Linked DNA regions of Homo sapiens: region 2 is linked to region 1. Evidence: promoter capture Hi-C in 16 types of primary human blood cells and fetal thymus (Javierre and others, 2016). All regions are on one chromosome and are shown on one strand. Each heading gives the region's core, a stretch centred on a gene start or on the middle of the fragment in contact. The rest is flanking DNA. Distances are from core to core; before and after follow the strand shown. Region 1 holds the start of SLAMF6 (SLAM family member 6). Region 2 has its middle 26 kb from the start of CD84.

Region 1 (2,818 bases), core at 266-2,765:
AATCAGTAGGTCCAAAATTGAACTCACCTTCCTCCTGTGGCTGCTCTCCACCTTCCAATTTTGTCACTTTCTTTGGCTATCCTGTCTGAAATTTCACTGCCGTCTTTACCATATTTCATCTCTCCCTTTCCTTCTTGATTTATTTCTTCCTACCCAATACACTATTTTACTTGTTTATCTTTTTTTACAGTTTGTCTCCTGCTAAAATGTTAACTCCATGAGGGCAGGAATTTTTGCTTGCTTTGTTCATGATGTATTCATGCAAACTAGAAGAGTGCCAAGCATTCAGTAGGTGCTCAATGAATATTTATTCCTTTCTCATTCCAATTACCAATTACTCTACTTAACTCCATATTGATGGGATCTCTTGCTTCAGTCTCTTCTTTCTCTTATGCTGCTGCCACACTTGTTGAACTGTTATTTTTTCTCATAACTATTACAAGAGCTTGTCGCATGCTGGCTAATGAAATTTGGGCAAATTATTTAAATTAAGTTCACCTCAGTTCTTCATTTTAAAATGGAGATATTAATAGTATAAATTCATAGAATTCTCATGAGACTCATAACGTGTGTACAGCACCTGGCACAATACTTGAAATACAATAAGTGCTCAGTGAATGCTTCCTACTTTTATCTGCTACCCTGGGCTAGCTCTGGACTAGATTTCCATTGGTCTCCTGGACTATCTCTGCCTGAATGCTACACTTTGTCTCCCGTGGACCACTTGTAGTTCCCCAAATGTGATATGAATCTTCATCTTCTCCATATAATGGACAGCAGGAAACAAGAAGCCAGCTGGATCAGTTCATTCTTTTCTCACTGCCATATATAATGCATTGCTGGACTAGCTAGCCCTAATTTGCACTAAAGGAGGGGAGAGATGGAAACCTTTTTTTTTGCAATGAGCAAAAGGTGAGAGGGTTATTTTTGGTGTGTTTGGTTGGGCCCAGAAAATTTGGCTCAACTGAATAATAGGTTTTTAATAATTTAGATGAGGATAGTGAGGTTCAGGAAGGATAAGTAACCTCCCTGAGGTTCACAGTACGATAGTAGATACATTGGTATGAGGGCCCATTTTCTTGGTCTTGGTACTCTTTATAACACAAGATGCTGGTCATAAACCACAAACAGTCTTGTCTTCAAAAGCTTATTTCCTCTGCCCCAGCAAATAACTTTCTTACATGCAGACACAATTGAAATTGTTCACCGACAACCATCTCAGGCTTATCGCATCCAAAGTTGAGAGGAGGTAGTAGTATATCAGGTAACACTGCCAGCGTCCCCTTTCCCGCCCCAATCCCTTGGCAGAGAGCCAGACAACTGTATACAGACGATTTAGGTTGAGCAAGCTGCACAAAACCAGGGAGTCACTCAGTGACTACACCGATCTGGATTGACATTTACCTGGGCCAAAGCAGAAGACAAACAGGAGCGATTGGAACAGCCACAACATGCTTTCCGCGGTGAAGACTGGTGCTTGAGACCTTGAGGCAGTCAATGTTTTTGCCCTTCTGTCATAAACTGAAAATACTTCTGAGACTTCCCCTTCCTCTTAGAGGCGTGGTGACAACTTCTTCCCCTGCACTAAAAATCCTAATTTGTAACTGTGTTAATTTTTTGTTTACTTTTTTCTGAGCTAAGTGCACAAATTTTTTTTTTTTTTGGAAAAGAAGATAAAGTCCTTTATTGCATCTTTCATAAACTTATATGTAAAAGTCTGTAAGGAATTTCCTAAAATCTACTAGAACAAATAAATGAGTTCAGCAAGGTGAAAAGATACAAAATCAAAATATAAAATTCAATTGCAATTGTATATACTAGCTATGAGTAATCCAAAAATAAAATTCAAAAAACAATTCCACTCTAATTACATTAGAAAAAAATATTTAAGTATAAAGCTAAGAAAAAGCCAAAAGAAAACTGATTTTTTAAAATTATACTTTAAGTTCTAGGGTACATGTGCACAATGTGCAGGTTTGTTACATATGTATACATATGCCATGTTGGTGTGCTGCACCTATTAACTTGTCATCTACATTAGATATTTCTCCTAATGCTATCCCTCCCCTTGCCCCCCACCCCGTGACATACCCCAGTGTATGATGTTCCCCTACCTGTGTCCATGTGTTCTCATTGTTCAGTTCCCACCTATGAGTGAGAACATGCGTTGTTTGGCTTTCTGTTCTTGTGTTAGTTTGCTGAGAATGATGGTTTCCAGCTTCATCCATGTCCCTGCAAAGGACATGAACTCATCCTTTTTTATGGCTGCATGGTATTCCATGGTATATATATGCCACATTTTCTTTATCCAGTGTATCATTGATGGGCATTTGGGTTGGTTCCAAGTCTTTGCTATTGTGAACAGTGCTGCAATAAACATAAGTGTGCATGTGTCTTTATAGCAGCATGATTTATAATCCTTTGGGTATATAACCAGTAATGGGATTGCTGGGTCAAATGGTATTTCTAGTTCTAGATCCTTGAGGAATCGCCACACTGTATTCCACAATGGTTGAACTAGTTTACACTCCCACCAACAGTGTGAAAACATTCCCATTTCTCTACATCCTCTCCAGCATCTGTTGTTTCCTGATTTTTTAATGATTGCCATTCTAACTGGCATGAGATGGTATCTCATTGTAGTTTTGATTTGCATTTCTCTAATGACCAGTGATGATGAGCTTTTTTCATATGTTTCTTGGCCGCATAAATGTCTTCTTTTGAGAAGTGTCTTCATATCCTTTGCCCACTTTTTGTTGGGGTTTTTTTTTTTTTCTTGTAAATTTGTTTGAGTTCTTTGTAGATTCTGGATATTAGC
Region 2 (2,700 bases), core at 60-2,559, 82 kb after region 1:
TCTTATAAATTTGGGAACTCCAGTGTTAGATGCATATATATTTAGGATTGTAATATTTTCCTGCTGGACTAGTCCTTTTATTGTTATGGATTGTCCCTCTTTGTCTTTTAAAACTATTCTTGCTTTAAAGTCTGTTTGGTCTGATATAAGAATAGTTACTCCTGCTCAGTTTTGTGTCCATTTGAATGCAATATATTTTTCCACCCCTTTACCTTAAGTTTATGTTAGTCCTTATGTGTTAGGCAAGTCTCTTAAAGACAGCAGATACTTGGTTGGTGAATTCTTATTCATTCTGACACTCTGGATCTTGTAAGTGGAGCATTTAGGCCATTTACTTTTAATGTCAGTATTGAGATATGAGGTACTATTCTATTCATTGTGCTAGTTGTTGCCTGAATTGCTTGGTTTTTTTTTTCATTGTGTTATTGTTTCATAGGTCCTGTGAGATTTATGTTTTAAGAAGGTTCTATTTTGGTGTATTTTGAGGTTTTGTTTCAAGATTTAGAATTCCTTTTAGCAGTTCTTATAGTGCTGACTTTGTAGTGGCAAATTCTCTTGGTAGTGATACATTCAGCATTTGCTTGTCTGAAAAAGACTTTATCTTCCCTTCATATATGAAGCTTAGTTTTGCCAGATACAAAATTCTTGGCTGATAATTATTCTTTTAAGGAGGCTAAAGTAAGGATAATTACTTAGTTTAAGGATATGAAAGATAGGACCCCAATCCCTTCTAGCTTGTAGGATTTCTGCTGAGGAATCTGCTGTTAATCTTATAGGTTTTCCTTTATAGGATACCTGATGCTTTTGCCTCACAGCTCTTAAGATTCATTCCTTCATCTTGACTTTAGATAACCTGATGGTTTAGATTACCTAAACCTGTGTGTTTAGGTAATTATCTTTTTGCAATGAATTTCCTGGGTGTTCTTTGAGTTCCTCAGGAACACAAATTATTCTTAGGTTTGGTCATTTAACATAATCCCAAATTGGCTGGAGGCTTTGTTCATTAAAAAAAACTTTTTTCTTTGTCTGTGTTAGATTGGATTAATTCAATAGCATTGTCTTTGAGCTCTGAGGTTCTTTCTTCTACTTGTTCCATTCTATTGTTAAAACTTTTCAGTGTATTTTGCATTTCTCTAAGCATGTCTTTTATTTCCAGAAGTTCTTATTGTTTTTTATTTATAATATCTATTTCTTTACAGTGTTTTTGTCCATATCTTGTATTATTTTAAAAATTTCTTTAAGTTGGTTTTCACCTTTCTCTGGTGCCTACTTGAGTAGCTTAATAATCAACCTTCTGAATTCTTTTTCTGGCAATTCAGAGATTTCTTCTTGGTTTGAATCCATTACTGGTGAGCTAGTGTGATCTTTTGGTGGTGTGATAGAACTTTGTTTAATTATATTGCCAGAATTGTTTTTCTGGTTCTTTCTCATTTGGGTCAATTATGTCAGAGGAAAGGTCTAGGACTCAAGGGCTGCTGTTCAGATTCTTTTGTCCCACAGGGTGATCCTTTGATGTGGTGCTCTCCCCTTTCCCCTACAGATGGGGCTTCCCAAGAGCTGAACTGCAGTGATTGTTATTGCTTTTCTGGGTCTAGCCACCTAGTGGACCTACCAGGCTCCAGGCTGGTACTGGGGAGTGTCTGCAAAGAGTCCTGTGTTGTGATCTATTTTCAGGTCTCTCAACCACGGATACGAGCACCTACTCCAGTGAAGGTAGCAGGGCAGTGAAGTGGATTCTGTGAGAGTCCTTGGTTGTAGTTTTGTTTAGTGCACAGGTTTTCTCAAATGCTGGTTATGCTAACAGTGAAGTTGTCACATGGACAGACTCAGGACCTCTGGTTAGCCAGGACGTTACAAGTGGTGGAATTAGCTGTTGTTTTCTCCTTCCTTGGAGCAGGGCTATTTTGTTATGAGTTGCTATAATGGCTTGACTTGATTGGCCTCCAGCCAGAAGGTGGCGATTTCAAGAGAGCATCAGCTGCAGCAGTACGGGGGAATACAAGCTTGCCCTAAGGTCACCTGGATAAGTATTTGGGTTTCTCAGGTGATGGGAGGGCCATAGGGCTCCCACAAGATTATGTCTTTTGTCTTCAGCTACCAGGGCTGGCAGAAAAAGACCATCAGGTGGGGGCAGAGTTGAGCATGTCTGAGCTCAGACTATCCTTGGACAGGGCTTGCTGTGGCAACTGTGCGGTATGGGGGTGTGGTTCTCAGGCCAATGGAGTTATGTTCCCAGGGGGATTATGGCTGCCTCTGCTGCTTTGTACAGGTAGCCAGGGAAGTGGGGGAAAGCCAGTGGTGACAGGCCTCTCCCCACTCCCACACAGCCAGCAAGGCCAGTCTCACTCCTGCCATGCTCCCCAAAGAGCCAAATTTATATCCAAGCCTCTGGTATGCAGGGCTGGGATGTTGCCCTGGGATACTAGCCTCTCTGCTGAGAAGGCAAGCAGGGCTTTCAGGCCTCACCCCTCCCTGCCTGCTGTGGCTTCTGTGCTCATATCTGCACTTTCTATTCATCTCCACAGATCCTGACCAGGACAATTCGTACTCAGTCAAAATTATTACAAAGTTCAGCTGGAAGTTTCCTTCTCCCTGTGGCCCTTCCCCAATCCCACTGGCAGCCCTCCCCAAGGAACCCTGTGAGATAAAGTCAGAAATGACTTCCCTGGACTTCCTGGGGGACCAGGAGTGCCTGTAGGG

What was found. Contacts are between HindIII fragments. The CHiCAGO score rates a contact against its expected background, and 5 or more counts as called.
Region 2: a contact is called between a fragment that was not itself captured here and the fragment with the promoter of SLAMF6 in region 1, in 10 of 17 cell types (activated CD4 T cells, total CD8 T cells, total CD4 T cells and 7 more). The highest score is 17.6, in activated CD4 T cells.

The regions. Positions count from the first base shown.
Region 1 is chr1:160,521,740-160,524,557 of GRCh38, forward strand. It overlaps SLAMF6 (SLAM family member 6), which reads right to left and starts at 1,516. Exons shown (of 8, transcript NM_001184714.2): 1 at 1,405-1,516. The coding sequence starts at 1,453. RefSeq lists an enhancer at 1,301-1,350. The HindIII fragment of the contact is 3,138 bases long and covers 1,145-2,818 here.
Region 2 is chr1:160,603,859-160,606,558 of GRCh38, forward strand. No RefSeq gene overlaps it. Among named protein-coding and RNA genes, the nearest start is that of CD84, 26 kb to the left of the region's middle. The HindIII fragment of the contact is 1,383 bases long and covers 619-2,001 here.